Regions from separate parts of the Homo sapiens genome. Here region 1 is linked to region 2. The links are contacts of gene promoters, found by promoter capture Hi-C in blood cells and fetal thymus (Javierre and others, 2016). All regions are on one chromosome and are shown on one strand. The core of a region is centred on a gene start or on the middle of the fragment in contact, and the rest is flanking DNA. Distances in the headings are between cores, read along the strand shown.

Region 1 (6,280 bases), core at 685-3,184, 1.5 Mb before region 2:
TGGACACGTGGCCTTGGACACTAGATGAAGAAGCAGGGAAGGGAGTGTGCCCCACCCGAGCCTGCTCTCACTGGTGGGGCAGAGTGGGCTGGCATGGTCACCAAGCAGAGGGGGGTCCATGTTAGGGGGGCAACATGGTGGTACCTGATGTGGGTTTACAAAGAGAGGTACCAAAATTGTCCCAGTGCTCATCCTTACACACATTTGGGGACACTTTCACACTCTTCCTCATGAAAGTAAACATGGAGTGGTGGGGATGAACAAGAGATGGGAGTAGCTGCCATTTGCAGGGCATGTGCTCTGTGTAAGTCTTTAGCCTGTTCACCCACTGCAGTGTACTAAGCACTTTCATAACCCATGATTTTATTTTATCCTCACTACTCCATAAAGTAACATTATACCCTATTTATTTAAAGAGGAAACGGAAGCCCCAAGAAATCCAGTGTCAAAATACCAGGACTTGGTGCTCAACAAATGTGTGGGAACAAAATTAGATGTTGACCTGATCCCTCCTGACTTTCTTAAGGTCTCAGGGCAGTGTATCTGTGATTTGGTGAGATGGCCACATGAGGGCAGGCACGCACACGTTGAGAAAGTTGAACTGGAATTTTGTCCTGCAAACTCTTTGAGGCGTTGCATGGGTTGCACACCGTGCTGGGTACTAAGAGTATGGTGATTTTTTTTCTTAGAAGGCCGGATAGTAAATACTTTAGGCTTTGTAAGCTAAGAGGCAACATCTAGGATGTCAACATCTAGGATGTTATATTCAATAGCCATTTGAAAATGTACAAACTATTCTCAGGTCATGGATCGTACAGAAACAGGCGGTGGGCCGGATTTGGTCAATGGACCCGTTTGCTAATTCCTGGTCAGGAAAGGCGATATGCTTAGCAAAAGAGAGAGTGGAAGGGGCAAAGAGAGAGAGAGAGAGAGGATGACGTGTGAATTCAGATTGTGTGGTGGCAGAACCTCTTATCCATTCAGGAAGTGTCTGATTCAGTGATTATGCCGAGGAGGCATGAATCAAGGAGGCCTCCCCATTCATCTCACTCTCCATAAGACTTTGATGGAAGAGCTTCCAGTGTTTCATATTTTTGCACAAAATGGACCCTAAATAGAATGCTAAAAGTCATGTGATGCTCAATCAGCAAACCAGGGATTGGCTTCATCCTGGGAAAAAGCTATCTGGGTGCAACAAGACACAAGCTCTCAAGGAGTTTGCAAACTGGACCACTGTTCTGGAGTTATGCAATTAAACACTGCACAATTGCAATTAAACATGGACAGAAAATCCTCCTCCCCGTTGTTCTTAGAACAAGAATAACAATGAAGTTAAAAGCCACCTGGAAGGGCCCCTCCTCACCCTTGTTCTCTCAGTTTCACTCTTAGTCCTCCTGAGGCCCACAGCACCACTGCTGTCAGCCAGCCTCTTGGCAGGTTGATAGGTGACTTCATTTGGTACCAACAACACAGATGCTTTCCAACATCATAACAACCTCACAGATGCCCTTTTTAATATCTGCGTATGTTACGTTATAGAGCTGTACCATGAGTTAGTGTCTGTTTTCGTCCATTTACATTGCTATAAAGGATTACCTGAGGCTGGGTAATTAAAGAGGTTTACTTGGCTCACGGCTCTGCAGGCTGTACAAGCAGCACGGTGCCAGCGTCTGCTTCTGGTGAGGGCCTCAGGCTACTTCCAGCATGGCAGAAGGCGAAGGAGAGCTAGCGTGTGCAGAGATCACATGGCAACAGAGGAAGAAGGCAGAGGTGCTCTTTAACAACCAGTTCTTCCGAGAGCTAATAGAGCAAGAATTTACTCATTACTGTAAGGCTGACACCAAGCCATTCATGAGTGGTCTGTCCTTCATGACCCAAACCCCTCCCATTAGGCCCCACCTCCAACTTTGGGATCAAATTTCAACACGAAGTTTTGGGGGACAAAAGTCCAAACCATATTAGTGTCCTTTTTTCCAGCAGGTATTTTCAAAGTACAGACATGCAACCAGCAAGGTACAGATGGTTGTAAGGAAAAAGTTACTAAGTGCTAGGCCTGATTCCAGGCCTTTAGGGGAGACTTGTATTGCAAGAAGACATATTGTCTACCAGTGAAACAATGGGAGAAAAGAAAAGTCACTACTGTGAACCAAATTCTTAGTGGCTTACATAGACAAATCATGTAATGTTGGAGTTGGAAGGGGCTCATCTAGTCTACTGTTCTTATTGTGCAGAAAAGGAAATGAGGCCAAGGGAGTGGGGTGGTGTCTTACTCCAAATTGCCCAAATTCAAGGCATGATTAGCACTGAAACTTGAGTCTCCTTCCTGTTGCAGGTGACAACTACCTGGGGCCAGTGTTCTGCAGCTAGTAAAAAAAATTCACCAAGACAGTTGTCGGTAAAGAAAGTCAGATGTATTAGAAAAAGTATGAAAGGGTACAGTGGGTAGGTCAGCAAGAAAGGAGCCGACTGCAAGGAAACAAAGGCTTGCTGGAGATTTTATAGGATGGTGCTTGTGCTGTGTGCCGAAGAGGGCTTTGTGCAGTACTGATAATGCTGTGGTTGCAGTGAGCTAACTTACTTACGTTTTTCTGTTAGCTGAGGATCTGGTGATAAGTTGAGTACAGGAAGGCTGTGTTGTAGACCATGAAGAAAGGCAGACTTACAGCTTATTTGCTTTCTCTTTTTGATTTTCCTCAGTTCCGCCGGCTCAACTTCCCCTCCCTGATAAGGACTCTATCCTTCCCACCTTTCAGCATTATCCACCCTTCATGATTTACTCATTTAATAAATATTTGTTGAGCTCCAGGCACTGGGTTTGCTGCTAGAATTTTACATCTTTATGCAAGAGAATAGGTAAAAGTAGAATGGATGGTTGGTTTTGAAAGATTAAAATTAAGAACCTCTGCACACCACCCCCCCCCCCTTCAGATCCACCTATCGCCAATGAGGGAAGTAAATCCAGCTTGCGGAGTTCACATGCACATGCACACACATATGCACATGCATATACAAATGTGTACACACACAATATGTAAAATACCTTTGGAGTGTGGGACAGTGTGCCTAAGATCATGGGCTTTGAAAACCAACCAGTTTGGGCTTCAATCCTGGCTTCCCCACCCAACACCTGTGTCCCGCAAGACACGTGGCCTGAACCTCAAATTGCTCACCCGTAAGTTGGGAGTACAAACACCCCCTTCATAGTATGATTGTGTGCCCTAAATGCAGTAACATGTTAAAGCACCAAATGTGCGCCTGCACACAGTAGGCACTCAGTAAGTGTTTGATCACCTGTCTCAGGAATGTCGGATTTTACTGGGGATTTTGACAAGAACACCACAAGGTGGTCAGGGCTGAAGGTGGGGGGAGCCCAGGGACTGAGGGGCACAGAAGAGGGAGCAGTGGACTCTGTGGAGGCCAGGGAGGCTTCCCATGGCTGGTCCTGGACTGAGCCCTGAATGAAGGTGGGTCCAGTGGAGTGCATGGCAGAGTACATGGCCTCCAGGAGCAGCGTGGAACTGATGCTAACAGATCCCATCCAGCAGCGATTGGCGCTCTCTTTCAGGTGCCCAGATAGATGACAACAATCCCAGGCGCACCGGCCACCGCATCGTGGCGCCCCCTGGTGGCCGCTCCAACATCACCAGCCTCGGTTGAACGTGGATGCGCGGAGGAGCTAGCCTGAAGGATTCTGGGAATCATGTCCATCCCTTTTCCTGTCAGTGTTTTTGAAACCCACAGTTTTAGTTGGTGCTGATGGAGGGAGGGGGAAGTCGAAGGATGCTCTTTCCCTTTTCTGTTTAGGAAGAAGTGGTACTAGTGTGGTGTGTTTGCTTGGAAATTCCTTGCCCCACAGTTGTGTTCATGCTGAATCCACCTCGGAGCATGGTGTTTTCATTCCCCCTTCCTAGTGAACCACAGGTTTTAGCATTGTCTTGTTCTGTCCCTTCCACTTCTAACTCCACTGGCTCCATGATTCTCTGAGTGGTGGTTCCTTTGCACCCTGTAGATGTTCTAGGATAGTTGATGCATGTTACTAAATTACGTATGCAAGTCTGTGAGTGCGTCTGAGGGGACATCGCCAAGGACTGACTGAGACACGATGCCGAGACCTCAAGCCCTGAGGGGCAGTCCCAAAACCCTTACAGTGAAGATGTTTACTCATTGCCCCCACCTCTGGTCCACACTAGAAAGAAGCTCGCCCCACCTCCACCTGTGAGATCCGTGAATTCTCGGAATGGCAGGGGAAGCCTTGCACTAGGTTGCAGAGAAGCATCCTCCACATCCTGTGTCAGAAACCCTGGTCTCCGTGGCACTTGTAACTCACCGTGCTGTCTTCTGGTCTGTGTGTGTTCTTCAAGCCAGCTCTAGGCTTCAGGCCGAGCCAGGTTCACACTCAGAAAGAGGTCTCCCCATCCCCATTCGGGGCTGACGATGGGGGGCTGATGGCTGCCCCTGCGTGGCCTGAGTCCTGGTCCCTCTGAGGCAGTTGACGGGGCAGTCAGATTTTTAAAGTTTTGTACAAAGTTTTCCTTTGTAATCACTCCCATTTTTACTTAACAACCAACTTGTTGTGGCTCTTATTTCTGAATTCAAAGCTTGTGAAAAAATAAAGAAAATGAACTGCCCACTGACCTGACTAGGGCACTTTCATTTCAGTGGTGGTGTCTGGATTGGGTACGAATGCTTGGCAGTCCCCCCGCGTGATAACGAATGGTGGTGGCTGCTTCCTGAGGACTCACTCTTGGTAGAGACTGGTGGATGTGGGGGTGGGAGGAGAGATTCAGTTCATGACTTCTGAAGGCTGAGTTCCTGAGACCCAAGGAGGCGAAGAGAGGGAAGACGGCTGATGGGCGGGCTTCCACAAAATAGGCTCAAATCTTGCATTGATTCCCTCCTGTTGGGCCTTTCCTGGCTCTCTTTCTTCTTGTATTGTATGGATCAGCCTCAGACTGGAAGCTCCAATCTCCTAAACTTCACATTTCTTCCTTCCATTTCCATGAGCTAGAGATACACTAAAGGACGGATAAAAACAGCAGGCAAAGTTGCTTGCTTCCATTAGCTGTTGTTAGTAATAGTGATGACAATGATGGTGGTGACAGTAATGATGGTGGTGATGGTGATGATGGTGACGATAGTGGTGATGATGATGGTGGTGTTGGTGATAGTGATGAAGTTGCTGGTAATGACAACAAATACATGGGCTGATAGCTGTATAGCAGTTGCTATATGCCAGGTGCTCTATGAGGTAGGGATTATTATCCCCATTGTACAGATGAGGAAACTGACTCAGAGTGAGATCAATAACTTGTTTAGGATCACACACTTAGGAAGTGATGGAACCAGGATTTGAATCCAGGACCCAGGCACTTTGGGCCCTAGTCCAAAGCTCCTTGCTCCTAATTACTGAGCTCCAAGGGCATTTGAGGCAGATGGCTTTGGATGCTCTGGTCCCACATCAACGCAGGGCTTTTCATGTACCCTTCTCCTCCCCCGCTCCTCGGCTTCGTGTGGATACCTTTGTCAAGGTTGAAAGAAGTGTTGGCTCAGGGTCAGTTATAGACTTCCTTGAAACAAGGTTAACTAACTACTGAGAAAGACCAAGAATGGATGGTAAGGATTTTTGGATGGAAAGACCAAGAACGGATGGTAAGGATTTTTGATGTTCGGCTTTGGCCCATTTGGACTATTAAAGGGAAACTTCCAGAAAAGTAAAGTTGGCAGGATGAAGTTATCCAGCCTGTTCTCTGGGCCTGGCCTCCTCAGTCCTGTCAGGGTGGAAGTGGAAGCAGAAGCAGCCCTAGCACCTTCTCTAAGACAGACTCTGACGGGGTGCTTGCCTGACTCCCAGGTCATGGGAGCCACTGTCCAACCAGCATAATCTAGAGCCCATGTCGAACTTTGGGTTCCCCAGCGCCTCCAAGAGGCACAGTTACAGGGGACAGGAGACCTGGTAGCTCAGATAATCCTTAGTTCTTGGAGACTGAGCTGCAACACTCCTTTTAAGGCATGTGACTTCCTTTTACCTCTTGAGATTTTGGGAGGAGGGAGAGAGAGTTTCTCAGAAAGTTTTAGGGGAAGGCTATTCTCATTCATTCATCTGCAACCCAATTCTCCCAGCCATGTGACATAACATACTCACAGGCCCAGGGATTAGGATGTGGTCATCTTGTTGGCAGGGACGGGGAGCGTTATTCTGCCTACCACAGTAGTCTTCTGGGTTTTTTCTAGAAGTTTTATCTTTCACATTTAGGTCTCTGAGCCATCTCTCAATAATCTT
Region 2 (5,603 bases), core at 1,302-3,801:
AAGGAGTCTGCCCATCATCATACTTTCCAAATGGCTTACTTGTAGCTCCTCACCTCCACCCTACTCATAAAAGCACTGGCTTGAAGCAACAAACCTGGAATCTTGTCTTAGCTTTATGCTGACTCTTATCATACTGGGAAGGCCAATTGGGTTAAACAGATACTGTGTGCCTAACATGTGCAACAGATTGTCGCGAGGATGGAATGCTGACAAACGGAACAGATGTGTTCCCTACTCTTCACAGGCTCTGTGTCTCAGTTTTCCATCATTCACTTAACTTTACACAATGCCCATTATGCGCTAGGCACTGAAGGTACGATGGCAAACACATCAGATACGGTCATCCATGTCTTCATGAAGCATCAGTCTAGTGGGAAAAACAAGTATCGTTGCACTGTACCAGAGTTATTTTTTATTTTTTTCCGAGACGCAGTCTTGCTCAGTTGACCAGGCTGGAGTGGAGTGGTGTGCTTTCGGCTCAGTGCAACCTCCACCTCCTGGGTTCAAGCGATTCTTCTGCCTCAGCCTCCCGAGTAGCTGGGATTACAGGCATGCACCACCACACCCAGCTAATTTTTGTATTTTTAGTAAGGACGAGGGGTGGGGGTCTCACCATGTTGGCCAGGCTGGTGTCAAACTCCTGACCTCAAATGATCCACTCGCCTCAGCCTCCCAAAGTGCTGGGATTACAGGCATGCGCCACCACACCCGCCTAATTTTGGTACTCTTAGTAGAGATGGGGTTTACAGGGTTTCACCATGTTGGCCAGGCTGGTCTCTATCTCTTGACCTCAGGAGCTGCCTGCCTCGGCCTCCCAAAGCGCTGGGATTACAGGCGTGAGCCACCGCACCCAGCCCTGTACCAAAGTTATTAAATGGAGGAAGCAGAAATTAATTTGGGAGGGAGGGTCAGGGAAAACTTCCTGGAAGACACATCTATGCTGAAATGTGAGTTAAGTTTGCCAGACTAAAAAAATGAGAGGGCTCACTTTCTTTGAGTATTCAGGAGGACAAACAAACAAACAACAACAACCAAACCCAAAAACAGTACGAGAGCACAAACAAGACTGAAGTACACATATGTGCCCTGAACACAAAAAACATCTTGAGCACCCTGCTTTTAAGCCTCCTGGCCATTCTGTCACTTCTGTTGGAAAGTATTTCCCTCCTTGTCCATTTCTGTGAATTCCTTCTGTTATGGTTAAACTGTTCCCCCAGCACTCCAGAATGTGATTGTATTTGGAGATCAGGCTTGTAAGAAGGTAATTAAGTTAAAATGAGGCCATTAAGGTGGGCCCTAATACAACCTGACTGACGTTCTCATAAAGAGGAAATCTGGATGCAAAGAGAGACGCCAGAGATGTGAAAACACAGAGGAAAGACCATGCGAGGACACAGCAAGAAAGCAGCCACGTGCAAGCCAAGGAGAAATGTCTCAGAAGAAACCAAACCTGAAGACACCTTGATCTTGGACTTCTAACCTCCAGAACTGTGAGAAAATAATAAATTTCTGTTGTTTAAGCCACCCAGTATTTTGTTTGCAGTCCTAGCAAACTAATACACCTTCTATTCCAGGCCCAACACTGCTCACTTTCAGAGTGAAACCTTATCACCCATATACACACACCTTGGGAGTGAAGGTTTCTCACAATACTCTGTGCATCCTCCACTCAACTTTCATTCATTCATTTAAGCAACAAACACCTAGTGACCACCACTGTGTGCCAGACCCTGTTTTAAGGGCTGAGAAGAGCTAACGTTTATTGAGTACTTACTAAGTGGCAGCCACTAGTCTAAGCGATTTACATGCACCAACTCATGAAATACGACAAGGTTCCAGGGACGCAGGTGCCGCTATGACATTCGCTTTACAGATGCGGGGCTGAGGCACAAAGAGGCCACACCGTAATGAAACTGAGCTAGGCTGTGGGCTCTGTCGTCTTAAGCGCTACTCTCAACTACAGCGTGGAAGGAAACAGAAGCCGAGAGATGGGCAGCGCGTAGCGGAGGCGGGCCGGGCTGGCTTCCAGCGGGCAAAGCCTGGAGATGAGAGGGCGCGGGTGGGGTTTCCAGGCCGAGGAAGCTGCACCAGGGAGAAGGCCCGGCTCCCAGGCCCGGAACCTGGCCGTCTGGGTCTCAGTCCGCGTCCCCTGTGATGCCCGGCACAGAGCAAATGCTCGCTGACTCTCGCAGGAGCCGCCAACCCCCCGGGTATCCTCGAGTGCCCAGAGACGGGAAGGAGCGGTGGGTCCATGCCCTTCTGGGCCACCTTCGGGCGCCCGGCCTCCCTTCCCTTCCGGGCCATTCCCACCAGCGCCAGCCCCGCACGCCTTCGCAAGGCCGGCCACCTTACCCTCGGAGGCCGCTCTCTGCCCCGCCGCCTACTCTTCACCTGCAGCAGCTGCCTTCAAGGCCACTCGCAGCGATCCGCTGGCCGCGGAATCATCACGACAACGCCCCCTTGGCTTGCCGGAACCGCCTTCCTGCTTCCGTTGGCGTCACTTCCACTGGGGGGGGCGTGGCCGCGGTGCGCAGGCGCGCTGGGTGGTTCAGAAGCGAATTCTGCACCGCGAAGCCTGAGAGGCAGGTAGCTGCGGCGCTGGGCTGGCGGCGGCGAGTCCACGTGCTCCCCGCGGCCGGTTGAAACCGTTGGCGGGCGCTGGCTGAGAGGTGAGGGGTGGTGGCCCAGAGGTCCGACCTGGGAGGCTGGGGCTCAGAGAGTGAGTAGGGGAGGGACGGGATTTCCACCGTCAGCCCCTCTGGGTTACGCATGGAGGAAGGAGTTCCATTCAGATCTCACTCCTGCTCTGGGGAAGTGGCAGGAGTCCTGGACTTAGGGTGACCAACTCGTTTTAGTTTTAAAACTTAAGGTCCGGCGTCCTGGGAACTCCCTCGGGCCTGGCCAAACCAGGACGATTGGTCACCGCCCGACTGGGCTTCAGGCTTGCTGCATGTTGGAGACAGGGCTCTTCTCTGAGCCTTGGGAGATCAGTCCCTAAAGAGGAGGCCTTAGGATGTAGCGGTCCAGAGCACATACTTAGGATCAGAATAACTACTGCGTGTGAATCTGGGTTGCCACTACCTGGATGTGGGATGACCTGGTGTAAGTTTTTTAACCTCTTTGCGCCTCACTTTCCTCATCTGTCATAACATATAGAATCTAACTCGGAGAACTGTGATGAGGATTACATGAGTAGAAATGTGTTAACCTCCTATGAGAGGGCTTGGGTGCTCCATGAATGTTAGGATTCTCTGAAGCACCTACCTCTGAGGAGAGAGGGAGGAGGATGAGGTGGGGTCTGTATTTGCAACCCTGATTTCTAGCAGAGAGGGCCCACTTGGGACTTACTCACACTGTGCCCGAGGCTCCCAGGGTCTAGCATAGTGCCTGACACATGGTAGTTACTCGAGTGAAGGGATGGTGTTTAAAACAGTGCTGGTGATGCCGTGGGTGGGGTAGGAGGCAGAGAGAAATGGCTTCTGTGCCTCAGTTTGCTCATCTGTTTAGTGGAGATAGGTGCACCTACTTCCCAGGGCTTTTGCAAGGAACAAGGGAGAGATTCTCTCCTTGTGAATGTCACCCATTGTAACCCTTGTCAGCCTCATACACAAAGGTTTAGGCAGGATGGTGGACAGAGTATGTTTGTCTGTCCTTCTCTTGCACCATACCCATGGTTTCTCAGAATGCTACCCGTGGAAGGGGCTTGAGTCTTGTCAAGTTGGCCTGACTTCTTGTTTCACAGATGAGATAACTTGAAGTTTATAGAGGCAGTGGCATGCTCAGGGTCACAGTGTTCAGTGGGGGATATCCTGGGGTTGCCAGCTAGGCCCCTCAGGTGGGCTGTTTGAGTGGTAGTGGTGGTAATGATGTGTAGGTCAGTGTCTGCATGTGCATGCAAGAATATTTTAAGAATAGTCAAGGCCAAGCGCAGTGGCCCGTGCCTGTCATCCGAGCACTTTGGGAGGCCGAGGAGGGTGGATCACCTGAGGTCAAGAGTTCACAACCAGCCTGGCCAACATGGTGAAACTCCGTCTCTACTAAAAATACAAAAATTAGCCGGGCATGGTGGCATGTGCCTGTAATCCCAGCTACTGGGGAGGCTGAGGCCGGAGAATCACTTGAACCTGGGAGGCAAAGGCTGCAGTGAGCCGAGATTGCGCCATTGTACTCCAGCCTGGGCAACAGAATGAGACTCCGTCTCAAAAAAAAAAAAAAAAAGAAAAAAAATTGAATAAGTAATACAAAAATATAGAGGGAAGAAGATTTAAAAAAAATCATTCCAATCTCAGAACCAAACCTAAGGGCATGTTATCAGGGAACTTGGTAAAGTAGGCAGCCATGGGGTGAGGAGCCAGAGAAGGTTGGAGTGAATTTATGAACATAAATGGGTGGGTTGATGGTCATATTTAAAGGAGCATGGGTTTAGGAGGGGGCTGGGTATAATAGCATTGATGTGCAAATTAGTAGGTCACAGAGAAACCTTTCTACAATTGGGCAGGGATGAAGCTTTCATATCTGGTGTCTTATTTAACTTTCCACCCAATGCTTTGAGTTAGGTATTAGATCCATTTTACAGATAAACAGATTCTGGGAAGTTAAGGTGCTTTGAGGTCATTTAGTTTTTAATGACTTTTTTGACATTAGCAGATGTAGGCTCCAGCTCAGATCCTCTACACCTGAGTCAGGGCCCTGTCCAACAAAAGCTGGCAACCATCTTGTTAAGAGAAGACTAACAAGTTCCCAGCCCCTTAGTGACCACTGGCTGCTGCCCCTCAGCTAGCTTTGCTGTCCAGACCCTGACAGCCTCTCCTGTGACATGGGTGGTCTCCTTGCCCACTGCACAGAGGTTTTATAATTAAGACTTAGGGTTCTAATATTTATACATGGAAAGTCATCTTATAGAGACCTTAATTTTTTTTCTCTTTGGATGAGGACCTCAAGGTCCCAGGTGCTGAGTAACCACCAAGCAAACGGCTAGGACATGGCAGGTCAAGATGGAGGCAGGGTGGGAGCCTGGGCTTGCTGCCTGGTCTTTCAGGCCACCTCTGCCACTTACTGTGACTTCGGGCAGTTCACTTACCCTCCTGAGCCTTAGGTTTTCTCTCCAGATGGAGGTAGTATGATCATAGCAGTCTTAGTGGTATTGGGGGCAGTTGTGTTCATAAATGGGACACGGCTTTGTAGAGAGCTAATGATCATGTGTTCTATGGTGCAGACCCCGTCATCTTTTTCATGGGTATGGCATGTGATGAGAGCTCAGTAAACTGACCATACAGACAGACGAAGACGCAGCCAGGAGCACACGCAGAGGACCTGCGTGAGGGCCCCAGGTGTATCTGGGTGGATAGGATAGTGTCAGCATTCAGGAAATGTCTGCCGAATTGAGTTAAAGTGACTGAGCAAGAACCGAAGTATGCTCTCAACCAGTCCAAGAACACTGCCTTCTGCCTGCCTTTCTCTTTTAACATGCGCATGTGGCCAGAAGGAAAGCATGTAGAATCTCTCTGGCTGCGCTGGGACTGGACATTGGGCAGAGGGAGTTGGGGAGCCAGGGAAGGAAAAGAGGACTCTATTTAGATCCAGCCCCATGAAAAAACTGCTGT

Evidence for each region. Contacts are between HindIII fragments. The CHiCAGO score rates a contact against its expected background, and 5 or more counts as called.
Region 1: a fragment that was not itself captured here is called in contact with the fragment with the promoter of LYAR in region 2 in 1 of 17 cell types (naive B cells); the score reaches 5.2 in naive B cells.

What each region holds. Positions count from the first base shown.
Region 1 is chr4:5,819,137-5,825,416 of GRCh38, reverse strand. CRMP1 (collapsin response mediator protein 1) reads left to right here. Exons shown (of 14, transcript NM_001014809.3): 14 at 3,566-4,653. The coding sequence ends at 3,657. It also overlaps a transcript of EVC not described here. Among named protein-coding and RNA genes, the nearest start is that of CRMP1, 71 kb to the left of the region's middle. The HindIII fragment of the contact is 5,333 bases long and covers 1-4,600 here.
Region 2 is chr4:4,287,102-4,292,704 of GRCh38, reverse strand. It overlaps LYAR (Ly1 antibody reactive), which reads left to right and starts at 2,551. Exons shown (of 10, transcript NM_017816.3): 1 at 2,551-2,669. ZBTB49 (zinc finger and BTB domain containing 49) reads right to left here and starts at 2,454. Exons shown (of 8, transcript NM_145291.4): 1 at 2,353-2,454. RefSeq lists enhancers at 3,526-4,063, 4,064-4,602. The HindIII fragment of the contact is 4,525 bases long and covers 1-4,508 here.